2 separate regions of the Homo sapiens genome follow, and region 1 is linked to region 2. The links are contacts of gene promoters, found by promoter capture Hi-C in human tissues and cell types (Jung and others, 2019). All regions are on one chromosome and are shown on one strand. The core of a region is centred on a gene start or on the middle of the fragment in contact, and the rest is flanking DNA. Distances in the headings are between cores, read along the strand shown. Region 1 has its middle 13 kb from the start of ZNF12. Region 2 holds the start of ZNF853 (zinc finger protein 853).

Region 1 (7,401 bases), core at 1,754-4,253, 110 kb before region 2:
AAAGAGCAATTTTAACGGGGTCAGGACATTGATCTTCTAATATTTGAAAGCCTGTTAACTAGGAGAGAGAGAGCAAACTGTTTGTTGTAGGAGGACCTACCCAGCTCTGACGGTTTAAAGCATCATGAATGCAAATTTGAACTCCAGAAAAGCAGAGTTTCCTAACAATGGGACTTCCACAGCAATGGGATCTGCTTCTTCACTCAGTCTGTGTCTTTCCCATGAGCAAGAGACTCCTAGGAGAGCCACAGCCCATTAGGAAGCCGTGTGGGAACTCACTCACACGTTCTTTGTTTATTTTTTTTGAGACAGAGTTTTGCTCTTGTTGCCCAGGCTGGAGTGCAATGGTGTGATCTTGGCTTGCTGCAACCTCTGCACCCTGAGTTCAAGTGATTCTCCAGCCCTCCCTCCTGAGTAGCTGGGATTACAGGCACCTACCACCATGCCTGGCTAATTTCTTGTATTTTTTGTAGAGATGGGGTTTCACCATGTTGGCCAGGCTGGTCTCAAACTCCTGACCTCAAGTGATCCACCCCCTTTGGCCTCCCAAAGTGCTGGGATTACAGGCATGAGCCACTGAGCCCGGCCAGGAACCCACAGGTTTTTCGGATGGTCTCTGAATGTCATGCAACTCTTTTATTTTGTATCAAAAAAAATTTTTTTGACACAACGTCTTGCTGTGTTGCCCAGACTGGAGTGCAGTGGCCAGATCATAGCTCACTGCAGCTTCTAACTCCTGGGCTCAAGCGATCTTCCTGTCACATGAGTCTCCCAAGTAGGTGGAACACAGGTGCCAGCCACCACACCTGGCTAATTTGGTTTGGTTTTGTTTTTTTAGAGATGGGCTCTTGCTATGTTGCCTACACTGATCTTGAACTGCTGGCCTCAGGCAGTCTTCCTCCCTTGGCCACCCAAAGTTCTGGGATTACAAGCATGAGCCACTGTGCACAGCTGAGATTTTTTGACTTAGCCTTTTTGTACATGCGATATTTTATTCCTAGAATCCATAAATGGTAGGGAAATTTCTGAGTTCAGAGCAATACATATGATACAAAACTTGATATATAGACTAGAGTTTGTTAGCCAAACTGGAGGGGCTGGCTTTAGGTAATCCATGGACTCCCTGAAATTGGGGACACCATTGGAAATATGTGTGAGCTCCTGGACAGTTTCCTATGACTTTCAGGCCTCAAGATGTCTCTGGACTCAAAGATGCCTTAGGGCAGAGGACGCTTGTACCCCCAGTATAGAATCTCGGACAGTGAATGTCAGTAAACATTCGGCAGAAAAGCTCTGCCAAACTGAGTGCTCTGATGTGACATTTTCATCAAGTCAATGTTCCTGGGATCTCTTGTACATGATCATCTCACTCTTGTAAGGTTTCATAGTTTCTGCTTAGCCTAGTTTTCTTTCCCACCCTGTTCCCTCTCCCACCAGACTGGACTCTGAAATGGGCATGTACAGAGAAGAGGAGACCCCACCATGCTTCAGGCTTTGAGTGGAGAGGACACAGCCTCTGCTGGGACAGGGAACAGAGGGATGTGGAGACCCTAAAGATGCTTTTGGACAGTGCCTGAGGTTGGGACAGTGGCAGGAGATACCATTCACCCACGATCTCCAGGACAAAGATCAGCCTGGCAGTTACATGTGTTTTTCTTCAAACTGGTTGCCAGGTTGGAATGACCAATGACATCAGAGATTCCAACCTTCCTGATTGGAAGGACTGGACTCTGTGGGCTCCTGGGAGCTCAGCTGGACAACCTTCTCAGAGCTGGTCTCCACTCCTGACTTCTCCCAGCCTCGAAAATTGACAACACACTCTTCTGGGTCTTAGCAGAGTCCAGAAGAAGGCCTTGGACAGAACAGAGACTAGGTTCCGTGGGATGGGACAGATTTTGGGAAAGATCATAACCAGCCATCAACCGCACCCCCAGGATGAGGAGCAGAGCCCCCAGCCCAGCGCCTCAGGGTACCCCTCCAGGAGGTGGTGGATGATGAAGTGTCGGGACCATCAGGTGAGGGGACTGGAGGAAGAAGAGGTAGGATAGGATTGACTAAGATGAAGGAAGGGGGCCGGGCGCAGTGGCTCATGCCTGTAACCCCAACACTTTGGGAGGCCGAGGTGGGCGGGTCACCTGAGGTCAGGAGTTCAAGACCAGCCTGGCCAACATGGCCAACCCCATCTCTACTAAAAGTACAAAAACTATCTGGGCGTTAGTGGTGCGCACATGTAATCCCAGCTACTCGGGAGGCTGAGACAGGAGAATCGCTTGAGGCTGGGAGGAAGAGGTTGCAGTGAGCCAAGATTGCGCTACTGCACTCCAGTCTGGGTGAGAGAGTGAGACGCTGTCTCAAAAAAAAAAAAAAAAAAAAAAGGTCAGAGGTCAGGAAGAAGAACCTGAGGCGGGTGTGTGGGAAGAATGGAGAAATTCAGATTCAGGCCAGGTGCAGTGGTCACACCTGTAATCCCAGCACTTTGGGAGGCCAAGGCAGGCAGATCACTTGAGGCCAGGAGTTTGAGACCAGCCTGGCCAACATGGTGAAACCCCATCTCTACTAAAAGTACAAAATTGAGTTGGGCATTATCGCAGGCACCTGTAATCCCAGCTACCTGAGAGGCTGAGGCAGGAGAATAAGTGGAATCTGGGAGATGGATGTTGCAGTGAGCTGAGATTGCACCACTACAATCCAGCCCAGGAGACAAGGCATGATTCTGTCTCAAAACAAAAAAAAAAAAAAAGGGAGGGACTCAGAGAGCCAGGGACCAGGGAAGGACATGAGGAAGTGTTGTGAGGACAGAGAGATGGAAGAACGGGGAGGGGAAGGAGCGGCACATGGGGCTCAGCAGAGGAGAAATCCAGAAAGATGGCTTGGAGAAGCCAGCAGTCTGCGAAGCTGGGGAGGATGGAGAGTGGTTTGGGGTTTGGGGTCGGGGTCTAAGGTGGTCAGTTGCAGAAGCATTACACCATGGCCTGGCTTCTTTACTCAGCCCCTGGGGTAGATCCCAGCCCCCCATGTAGGTATTTTTGCTGGAAAAGGAAGAGGGAGTGGTTGGACAAATGTGAGGAGGAGCCAGAGAAGAAGCTCACCCCCGAGCCTGAGGAGACCTGGGTGGTGGAGATGCTGTGTGGGCTCAAGATGAAGCTGAAGCAACAGCGAGTGTCACCTCGTGCTCCCTGAGCACCACGAGGCCTTCAATAATCAGATTGGTAGGAGGACACTCCAGAGAGCACCTCCAATCCTGTTCTTCTAAAAAAGAGGAAACTTCCAATAACCACTATTTTCCAATGGGAAAAATATGCCCCCATTGGGTGAGCTCTCCATGTGGGAGGACTCAGAAGTGATCACTCATGAGGGACGCTTAGGAGACAATAGAGGATTAGGCTAGACTTGACAAAGGTCAGTGCTTGGGATAAGAAAGCTTTGTTTTGGGCCAGGTGAGCTTACGCCTGAGATACCAGCATATTGGGAGGCTGAGGCAAGGGGATTGCTTGAATTCAGGACTTTGAGGCTGCAGTAAACTATGACTGCACCACTGCACTCCAGCCTGGGTGACAGAGCAAAACCCTGTCTCAAAAGAAAAACCAAGGCTGGGCACAGTAGCTCATGCCTGTAATCCCAGCTACTCAGGGGACTGAGAGGAGAATCGCTTAAACCCGGGATGCAGAGGTTGCAGTGAGCCAAGATCACGCCAGTGCATTCCAGCCTGGACCACAAAGCACGACTCTGTCTCAAAATAAATTAATAAATAAAAATAAAAATCAAATAAAGAAAAACAAAATCAATAAACAAAGAAAGTGGTTTCAGCTGTGCTCTCTGAAACTTAATGTCTCTTACTGACTTTTCTAAACCTAAGTGTCTCCATCCATAGTGGGGGATACCAAGGCCATGGTCACACCCTGATGTGACTGTCTCATGAGGAAATGATGGGAATTCCTTTATGACTCTGCAGTGGTCCCTCCGTGTCTGCTGGGAGGGCATCCTGGCTTATTCCCAGCTCTACATCCCGTAGATTCTCACACCCAGGGCCTCCTTCGGCCTCTTCTCAGGGGAGTCTCAGAGCAGGAGCCTCTCTCCTTTGCCCAGTGAAAGTCATTCTCCCCCCTCCCATCCACCTCGCCCATGGCAGCAATCCTGAGACCTCCCCCCCGGGAGGCACACTTCTCGCTGCCCTGCTGCTCCCACAGAAAGCTTCTCATGCTGACATCTGCCCTCTAATAACAGAGGATCCTGTGATTAAAAGATTCCTGGCCTGGGACAAAGATCTGAGGGTGTCAGACAACGTAAGGTTGTTCTCCATGTAACTGTGTTCCTGCTTCAACGCACCACCGGAGGGAGGGCGCAGCTTCCAAACCCACAGTTCTCCCTCCACCACCTCCCACCAGGTGCTCCTACGGTCTTTTTTTTTTTTTTTTTTTTTTTTTTTTTTTTGTGAGACAGAGTCTTCCTCTGTTGCCCAGGCTGGAGGGCAGTGTCTCAATCTTGACTCACTGCAGCCGAAGCCTCCCAGGTTCAAGCGATTCTCCTGTCTCAGCCTCCAAGCAGCTGAGATTACAGATGTGAACCACCACGCCTGGCTAATTTTTGTGTTTTTAGTAGAGACGGGGTTTTGCCATGTTGGGCAAGTTGGTCCTGAACACCTGACCTCAGGTGATCCACCCGCCTTGGCCTCCCAAAGTGCTGAGATTACAGACGTCAGCCACTGTGCCCCACCAGCTCCCACAATCTTGAGTCTTGGCACCCACACTTTTTTCTGAGACAGAGTCTAGCTCTGCTCCCCAAGATGGAGTGCAGTGGCATGATCATAGCTCACTGCAGCCTCTAATTCCTGGGCTCAAGCAATTCTCTTTCCTCAGCCTCCTGAGGAGCTGGGACTAGGCACATGCCACCATGCTCAACTAATTTTTGAAATCTTTGTAGAAACAGGGTCTCGCTACATTGCCCAGGTTGTTCTCAAACTGTTGGGCTCATGTGATCCTCCTGTCTCCACCTCTCAAAGTACTGGGATCACAGGCCTGAGCCGCCACTCCCGGCTATTCTTGGTCTTTTTATGATTTGTCAGCATCTCCCTCAGGACTCTGCTGGTCTCTTGCCGAGTGAATGAATAGCCCCTGCCTCTCCTATGGGTCCTTTAGGATCTGAGCCCTGGTCCACAGTCTGACCGCAGCCCTGAAGCTCCTGGCCCCTCTACTCTCAGCTCTTTGAGACAATTCTCTGCCTGGCACACAAAAGACCCTCCTGACACCAGCTGACCTAGACACGCCCCCACCAAAGATCCCATCGGAGCCCACCATCCTGGGAGCATCACCGACATCCCTTCCTCCCTCGGATTTGCATCCGACCATCGAATACCCCTCCACCCTGCTATTTCCAAATGAGTACAGTCACCCCAACACTGAAGTCCCTTCTCTGATGGGCAGCCCCTCCCCAGACCCTCATTCCCCCTCTCCACAATCTTCCTCTTCCAAGATGTGACCTCTCTGTGTTCCTTTCTCTCCATCAGTATCTCCTGGCTATGGTCAGCGTATTTTAGCCGGGCCAGACCCTTCTCCTGGCAATACCAACGCATCTATTTCTTCCTGGCTCTGTGAGTGGTTTGCTGCCTCCTATCGGTCAATATCCAATGCTCTGGGACAGCAGAGGAAGGTGGGATTCCAGCCTTTCATTTATTCTTTCACCTATTTGTCCACTTTACTCTGTGTACAAAAAAGACAGGATTTTACTATCTTGTTCTTAGACTGTTGTTTCTAAAAAGAAACTCAGGCTGGGAGCGGTGGCTTACGCCTGTAATCCCAGCACTTTGGGAGGGCCAGGCAGGCGGATCATCTGAGGTCAGGAGTTCGAGACCAGCCTGGCCAACATGGCCAAACCCATCTCTATTAAAAATAGAAAAATTAGCCGGGCATGGTGGTGTGCACCTGTAATCCCAGCTACTTGGGAGGCTGAAGCAAGAGAACCCCTTGAACCCAGGAGGTGGAGGTTGCAGTAAGCTAAGGTTGAGCCACTGCACTCCAGCCTGGGTGACAGAGTGAGACTTTTTCTCCAAAAAAAAAAAGCAAAAAAAAACAAACTCCAATGCCAGTGTACAAATAAAAGAATAAAACAAAAGGAAACATAAACTGCTCCTAAGGGGAGAAGAAAAGGAGCGGAGGAGCGGACACGACACTTCCCCCAGCAAGCAGACGTTTCTGGTTCTTCTCTCTCTCTCCTTCCCACATCAACCACAAATGCCATCGACCTCCTCCGGGTTCCCACGACAGAGGCCACAGTTCAGGTCCCCCTCGCATCACTCGAATCCACTGTCAAATGCTCCCTGCTGGGGTCTCCTGGAGTCTCTCCCCAAGCCAGGGGGCTCCCTAGTGCAGCCTGAACATCTTTCCACGGCACGATGCCCTCACTGCCCACCTGAACAACCTCCTTAGCTGACATCTTTCTAAATCGAGGCCAGGGTAACAGTGCCAATTCCACCCTCTCTACAATCTCTACAACCACACTGGCTCGCCTTCTTGGTGTTTCCTGGCTTGGCTTCACTGCTCCTTCCAAATGTCCTCCACTTGACTTTGCGTTTGTGTTTTCTGTCTGGATGTCCCACACACATGTGGTTCTGAAGGGAAGGACCCATTCCTTGAAGTCAGTTCACCCCACAGCCTCTGTCATGCCTTCCCTCATCTTCCAACTTCTGCACGCCCGTAGATCTCCAGTTATATCCTATTATAATGTGACACTGGGATTAGGTCATCTGCCTTGATTACTACCAGTCCCATTAGACTAGATGCCTGTAGAAGGCAGGGTCCTGGCAAACTATCAATGTATTCAATTTCTTTTATTTTTTTGAGACAGACTTCCCCTGTCCCCCAAGCTGGAGTGCAGTGGTGAGATCATAGCTCACTGCAGCCTCCATATCCTGGGCTCAAGCGATCCTCCCACCTCAACCCCTTGATTAGCTCCGACTACAGGGCTGTGCCACCACACCTGGACAGTTATTGATTAGTTGATTGATTGGGACAGAGTCTTGCTGTGCCTCTCAGGCTGGAGTGGAGGGGCCCAATCTCGGCTCACTGCAACCTCTGCCTCCTGGGTTCACACAATTCTTTTTTTTTTTTTTTTTTTGAGATGGAGTCTCGCTCTGTCACCCAGGCTAGAGTGCAGTGGCGCGATCTCCGCTCACTGCAAGCTCCACACCCTGCTTTCACGCCATTCTCCTGCCTCAGCCTCCCAACTAGCTGGGACTACAGGTGCCCGCCACCACGCCCAGCTAATTTTTTGTATTTTTAGTAGAGAGGAGGTTTCACCATGTTAGCCAGGATGGTCTCGATCTCCTGACCTTGTGATCCACCCACCTCGGTCTCCCAAAGTGCTGGGATTACATGCATGAGCCACCGCAGCTGGCTGGGTTCACAC
Region 2 (7,095 bases), core at 4,205-6,704:
AGACCCCAGGACCTGCCCCTTACCCTGCCCTCAAAGATACACTAACACGCTCTTAGCAGGAGCCCGAAAGTGCTGGATCGAGTAACAATAGCAGCCCAGCAGAAACTGAAATGCTGCAGGGGCAGGGGTGGCTTGGAAATGTGCCCAGGTGGCCGGGCACAGTGGCTCACGCCTGTAATCCCAGCACTTTGAGAGGCCGAGGTGGGCAGATTGCCAGAGCTCAGGAGTTCGAAACCAGCCTGGGCAACATGGCGAAAGCCTGTCTCTACTAAAAATACAAAAAATTAGCTGCCAGGTGCCTGTAGTCCCAGCTACTAAGGAGGCTGAGGCAGGAGAATCACTTGAACTCAGGAGGTGGAGGATGCAGTGAGCCGAGATCACACCACTGTGCTCCAGCCTGGGTGACAGAGGGAGAGTCCATCTCAAAAGAGAGAGAGAGAGAAAGAGAGAGAGAGAAAGAAAGGAAGAAGGGAAGAAAGGGAAGGAAGGGAAGGAAGGAAGGTAGGTGGCCAAGGGACTGCTGGTGACCTCCCTCTGGACCCCAGCTCCCTGATCCCTCCTTGGAGCTTCCCTTTACACAGGCCCCATGCTCTGATCTCGGCACTGGCACTAGCAGGGATGCTGGGGGCTCCCTGACCATCCTGAGAAGTCTCTTGCGCTTAATCACCCTCCAGTAGAAACCACTGAACTGGCTGTCCCAACGGCCAAGCCATCAACCCCATGCTGAACTCCGACCTTACAGCCACACCTTAAATAAATGAAATTATCCTTCTCTGTAAATAATAAAGAATTTATATAAAGCTGCCCGGAGGTGTTACCACAAGTAGTTTCCCAAAATCACCAAAGTGTCAGAGAGACCACTAGGTTTCAGACAGGAAGTTCTCAGTTCAGAACCTAACTCTACCAGTCGGCAGGTATACAACCTCCTGCAGGCTCACAGTCCTGTCTACAAAATAGCTCAGTGATACCCACACCATCTGCTTAAACAGTACAACAAGGAGAGCCCTGGCATAGTACCTGGAGCCTGGTAGGTGCTTGAAAATTCCCTCTCTCTGAAGGTTAGGATTGGTTTGCAAAGTAACAAAAAAATACCAAGGAGACTGGGACTGTTTGAGATTGTCATTCAGGAATACAAAGGACTAACTAGGCTGGGCGTGGTGGCTCATGCTTGTAATCGCAACACTTTGGGAGGCATAAACCTGGGAGGCCCTGCAAAAACAGCACCACTCCGTTACTACGCTTCTCTTTCCGCACCGTGTACACCATGAGATTCTCGTTTTGAGTATTACTATTGTGCTACTGGAAAATCCCAATCCTTCTTTCTACATGTGACTTGAGGAGGCTTTCTCCGTTCCCAACTCTGATTTCAACATCTCTTCTCCCTATAACATCATATGTTTTCCATTTTGTAATGGAAGACAATGCTTTGATTTATAAAAGTTTGCTTTCTGGCCATTTTTCCAAGAATATATTGATTTAATAAAACCAAGGGATGGCCGGGCGCGGTGGCTCACGCCTATAATCCCAGCACTTTGGGAGGCCGAGGCAGATGGATCACGAGGTCAGGAGATTGAGACCATCCTGGCCAACATGACGAAATCCTATCTCTACTAAAATACAAAAAATTAGTCGGGCGTGGTGGTGTGCGCCTGTAGTCCCATCTACTCGGGAGGCTGAGGCTGGGGAATCACTTGAACCTGAAAGGCAGAGGTTGCAGTGAGCTGAGATCACGCCAGTGCACTCCAGCCCAGCGACAGAGCAAGACTCCTTATCAAAAAAACAAACAAACAAACAAACAAACAAAAACAACAACCCAAGGGACATAGTGAAACCCTGTCTCTACTAAAAATACAAAAATTAGCCGGGCATGGTGGCAGGCACCTATAGTCCCAGCTACTCGGGAGGCTGCAGCAGGAGAACTGCTTGAACCCAGGAGGTGGAGGTTGCAGTGAGTCAAGATTGAGCCACCGCAATCCAGCCTGGGCAACAGAGTGAGACTCTGTCTCAAAAAAAAAAAAAAAAAAAAAAAAATCCACCAAGGGAGATCTGTATGCATATAATTTCCTCTAGTAAAATATTCCTAATAACCTTTGGTTAGGCTAACAGATCCGTGAGCGTGCTTTTCATAGACACTGACATTGGCTGGGGGGAAGCACATGGTAGAAGACAGGGTGAAAACTGTCCCCCCAGCAAGTCCAATGTCTCATGGACCCTCCTTTCTCCCACCTCTTCTGGGAGGAATGAGACAGATCATGCCTCTGTGTTGAGTCTCCTCTTTTCTGGCACAGTCTTGACCACAGGCCACTCTGACTCCCTGGGGCAGCAATTTCAGTTTTTGTTTGTTTGTTTGTTTTAAACAGGATCTCACTCTTGTCACCCAGGCTGGAGTGTAGTGGCGCAATCTCAGCTCACTGTAGCCTCAACCTCTCAAGCTCAAGCGATCCTCCCATCTCAGCCTCTCAAGTGGCTGGGACTATAGGTACACAACACCACGCCTAGCTAATTTTTTAAACTTTTTGTAGAGATGGGGTTTTGCCATGTTTCACAGGCTGGTCTCGAACTCCTGAGCTCAAGCGATCCACCTGCCTCGGTTTCCCAAAGTGCTGGGATTACAGGTGTGAGCCATTGTGCCTGACCTCAGCATTTTTAACAAAGGCATTTTAGTGAACATCTAGTCCAGTGTTGTCTGACGTGTATACCCTCCCAAAGTTTTGTCAGGTAAATTTACAAGTCAGAAGGGTCTTCTTTTCCTCTTCTTCTTTTTTTTGAGACGGACTCTCACTCTGTCACCAAGGCTGGAGTGCAGTGGCATGATCCTGGCTCACTGCAACCTCTGCCTCCTGGGTTCAAGTGATTCTTCTGCCTCAGCCTCCCGAGTAGCTGAGATTACAGGTGCCCACCACACCCAGCTCATTTTTGTATTTGTAGTAAAGACAGTGTTTCACCATGTTGGCCAGGCTGGTCTCAAACTCCTGGCCTCAACTGATCTGCCCGCCTCGGCCTCCCAAAGTGCTGGGATTACAGGAATGAGCCATCATGCTCGGTCAGAACGGTCCTTCTTGACTCCACACATCCCCATCCCACCCCCTCCAATTCCCTTGGTCCTTTTCAAGCTCTGTCCCGCCCTGCCCCAGGCCCTCACTCAGCACCCTTAAAGCACAGAATGGAAACTGGCTCTCATGAGTGTGGCCACCAGAGAAGGTTTGCCCAGAGTGGGTCCCAGAGGAAGAGGTCTTGGAAGGTTCTGCAGTACCACATCTGCCCCTGGGCATCAGGTAGAGAAAAACAGATGCAAGCAGAGGTCAAGCTAAAGTGGAAAAGGTTACGAGGCCACAGGGGAGAAGAAGCCAGGGAGCCAACATCTGGGGCAGGAGGGGCAGAGGAAGAGAGCCTATTAGTACCTGAATCGGATCCGGGAAATTGAGTGGAAATTGACTCAGGAGCTGGGGCCAGGTGGGAGGATGGTGGAGGCCCTCTGGCTGCCAGGAAACACAGCAATGAGTTCCAGCCAGCAGCGCGTGTGAGTGTTAAGTCCAGTCAGCACCCATGTGGGGAGCGGGGAGCCCCTCACCAGCCTGGCCTCAGCCTGCCTGACACAGCCACCTTGGAAAATCTCAAGGGAGAGCTGCTGGTGTTACTCAATGCAGCTGAGGTTGGCTGGTGTGAGTCTGTGCAGGCTGCCCGCCACCCTTGAGCCTCTTTCTGCCACAGCAGGCAGGCATGAGGCTCTGTCAAGGGATCCCCCGAGGCCCTCACCTGAGAGGGTGTCAGGCCCTGGGCCCCCATCCTCAAGACATTGAAGTTCCAGCACGAAGGTCTCGGTGGCTGGCCCCACTTCCATCCTGGCGGTCAGACCCCGATTCCCGGGAGTCGGCTGTGCTGAAAGGAAGGAAGCAGTTTAGCCAGGCTGGAGTGCTTTGACCCCCGCCAGGTGCCCACAGGCCCCCAAAGGCCCTCCACCTCTGCCTCGGGCCACCCAGAGCGGTCAGCTCCATACCTGCTGCAACTATAGGACTGTCCCCCGCAACGGGGAACGGGGAGTGCCGGCGGCCTGGAGGCTCAGGACTGGGGAGTTGGCAGACAGCACCAGAGGCTGTCACCTGCATAGAGGCAGGACTGCCTCTCCTGACTTTTCACAGCGGGATGGAGAGTGGGGTAGCCCCACAGAGACACAACTGTGGGTATCAGCCCTTCACAAGGGAGGAAAGCTAGAGTCACCAAAGGGACATTCAGGGCGGGGAGCTCTGGGGCCAAAGAGAGACTGTCCATCAACATCCTCCCTGCCTCCTTCAATTCTTTTTTTATTAAATACTTTTTTTTTTTTTTCTTGATACGGATTCTCACTCTGTCACCCAGGCTGGAGTGCAGTGGTGCGATCTGGACTCACTGCAACCTCCGTCTCCCCAGTTCAAGCGATTCTCCTGCCTCCGCCTCCTGAGTAGCTGGGGCTACAGGTGCGTGCCATCACCCCCAGCTAATTTTTATGTTTTTTTATATTGTAGATGATGTTGCCCAAGGCTGGTCTCGAACTCCTGGCCTCAGGCGATCCTCCTGCCTCGGCCTCCTAAAGTGTTGGGATTATAGGAGTGAGCCACTGCGCCTGGCGCCCTTCCATTCTATTGCCTTCCTGGCCTGCTCTGAGAAGGCCGCCAGCAGGCCACGTGTGTCAGCTGCCACCCCAGCTCCCGGGCAAGGCAGGTGTCCAGAGCACTGTCACCCACGGCCTGGCCCTGTGCCCAGGCGCTCCTGAGAGTCCACCCTGGCCCGTGCAGAGCTGGCCCCTCTCCCCTAAACAGGCCGACTCGTGCCATCCAGTCCAAACTCTCTCAAGGGACGCGTCCCCGGTTGCCCAGCGCCAACGACCCCCTGGGCCTCACCTGGTGGAGCATTTCCTGCTCCCGGGCAGCCTCTGCGCTAGGGAGGTGTGGTCAGCAGAGGCTGCGAGGTGAAGGCCACGGCGTGCAGCCGGCTCCTTCCGGAGGCGCCTCCATCCAGAAAGAGCCAGGAGGCGCAGGGCCACCCCGGGGGCTTTCTGGGCACTCCGGAGGGTCCACGCCCTCTGGGCTGCCGAGGTCGCCCTGGGCCAAGGGAAGGGGCTGAGAGGAGCGGCCGAGCAGAAGTTGGTGGAGACTCTCCGGCGGGGGCTGGGGCGGGAGGCAGGGCCCCGAATCCCGCGCGGGGCTCAGGGCCGGCCCCCCGGGACCATCGCGGGCAGCGGGATCCAGGCCGGCGCCCGGGGTCGGCACCACGGGGTGGCCCCGCCTGGGGTCGGCGGCGGCCAGGCGACGCGGGTCCTCGGGGGCTACAGGTGCCCGGAGCCTGCGGGCGGCCTGGGCCGGGCCGCGCGGGGGCCGGGGCGGGGGCGGGGCGGGCGCCGCGGCAAGGCCGGGTCCCCCTGGGCTCGCCCGCCCGCCCGGGAGTGCGTCCGTGCGGGCCGCTGGCCGGGCCGGGGGCGGGGGCGCGGGGGCCGGCACAGGAAGTCCCCCCGGCATCCGCATCCTGTCCCCCGCCCCTGCCCGCCCGCCGCGCCCCCGCGCCCCGGCCCCCGCCGCCGCCGCCGCCGTCGCCGCCGCCGCTCTAGGCAGCCGCAGCTCGGTGGGCTTAACCATTCCCGGCCCGGCCACTCACCCGGCCCGGGGGACACGATGCGGCGGCCCCTGGGGCGTCCCGGGCTGGCCGGTGCCGAGCGCAGCGCGCGCTGTGCCGCATCCCTGCTGCGCGTGTCCTCGCGCCACGGGGTTGGCGACTGTCACTGCCTGGGTGTCTGGGTGGGGGGTACCCAACCCGATCCCTGCCACCCCCTAGAGGGCAGGCGTGGCCTCGGGGCGCCCCTGCCGCGGTGCAAATTGTGGCTAATTAGCACACAATTCGATGGCACTCGGAGAGGGAGTAGGCGCCATCCGGGCCCGGCCCGAGCGGGCCCTGGAGAGGCCACCCCGGTCCGCACCGTGGAGCCCTCCTCCTAGACCCCGGGGCTGGGGAGGGCAGGCCAGTAGGGAGTGTGTGCCTCCCTCCCCCGATCAGGGACTGTGACCTGCATAGATCAAATGAGGCCACCGTGGAGAACTGGCAGAGCTGGAATCCTCCCGCCCAGCGCCCCTGCGGCCTTTCGCTGACCACAAGGCTGGTGGTCAGGCCTCCCACCTCCCTCACCCTCTCCTCTCCTCTTTCCCTACTTGGCAAGTGGATTCCTGCCTGGGTCAGGGGTCTTCTCCAAGGGAGGCCTTCCCTAACCCCGTCTTAATGTTGCACCACCTAACTTTCCTGTTCTCGGTGCACAAACCTCTCTAACCTGGAGAATTCAAATTCAAATTGGGATGCTCAAATTCTTTAGAAAAAACCAAAGATCTGGGGGCAGGGCATGGTACTTCACGCCTGTAAACCCAGCATTTCGGGAGGATCACTTGAGGCTGGTAGTTTGAGACCAGCCTAGCCAACATAGCAAGACCCCATCTCTACAAAAGAGGTTTTTAAAAAATTAGCTGGGCTACTGAAAAGTAGCCTGTAATCCCAACTACTTTGGAGGCCAAGGTGGGTGGACCACTTGAGCCCGGGAGGAGGTCGAGGCTGCAGTGAACTATGATCGCGCCACTGCACCCCAGCCTGGGTGATAGAGTGAGACCCTGTCTCCATCTAAAAACAAGCAAACATGCTGGGCGCGGTGGCTCACGCCTATAATCCCAGCACTTTGGGAGGCCGAGGCGGGCAGATCACCTGAGGTCTGGAGTTGGAGACCAGCCTGGCCAACATGGAGAAACTCCATCTCTACTAAAGATACAAAATTGGCCGGGCATGGTGGCACATGCCTGTAACGCCAGCTACTCTGGAGGCTGAGGCAGGAGAATCGCTTGAATCTGGGAGGTGCTCCTGGGGTGCAGCAGGAATGCCCCCCTGGTGGGGGACAAGAGCCCTCAGGGTTCACAGCCCCCTCCCTTCCTCCTGTCCCTGGGCTCACACTGCTGTGGCACAGGTGGCCACCTTGTCCTGTTTTTGGAATCTCTCTGGCCCCCACAGGCACTGGAGTTTCAGGCTTCCTTTCTGGCCCTTGCCTGAAAAGCCTGCACTCTGGTGGCTTCTGCCCCAGGCTAGAAAAAG

What was found. The method cuts DNA at HindIII sites, captures the fragments that hold promoters and counts their contacts. A contact is called where the count stands out against the background at its distance.
Region 1: a contact is called between a fragment that was not itself captured here and the fragment with the promoter of ZNF853 in region 2, in 2 of the 25 tissues and cell types used here (lymphoblastoid cells and spleen).

What each region holds. Positions count from the first base shown.
Region 1 is chr7:6,716,531-6,723,931 of GRCh38, reverse strand. It overlaps the pseudogene SPDYE20P. Among named protein-coding and RNA genes, the nearest start is that of ZNF12, 13 kb to the right of the region's middle. The HindIII fragment of the contact is 6,899 bases long and covers 1-6,452 here.
Region 2 is chr7:6,613,969-6,621,063 of GRCh38, reverse strand. It overlaps ZNF853 (zinc finger protein 853), which reads right to left and starts at 5,454. Exons shown (of 3, transcript NM_017560.3): 1 at 4,878-5,454; 2 at 3,757-3,874. The coding sequence starts at 4,889. RefSeq lists enhancers at 5,817-6,570, 6,571-7,095. The HindIII fragment of the contact is 23,550 bases long and covers 1-7,095 here.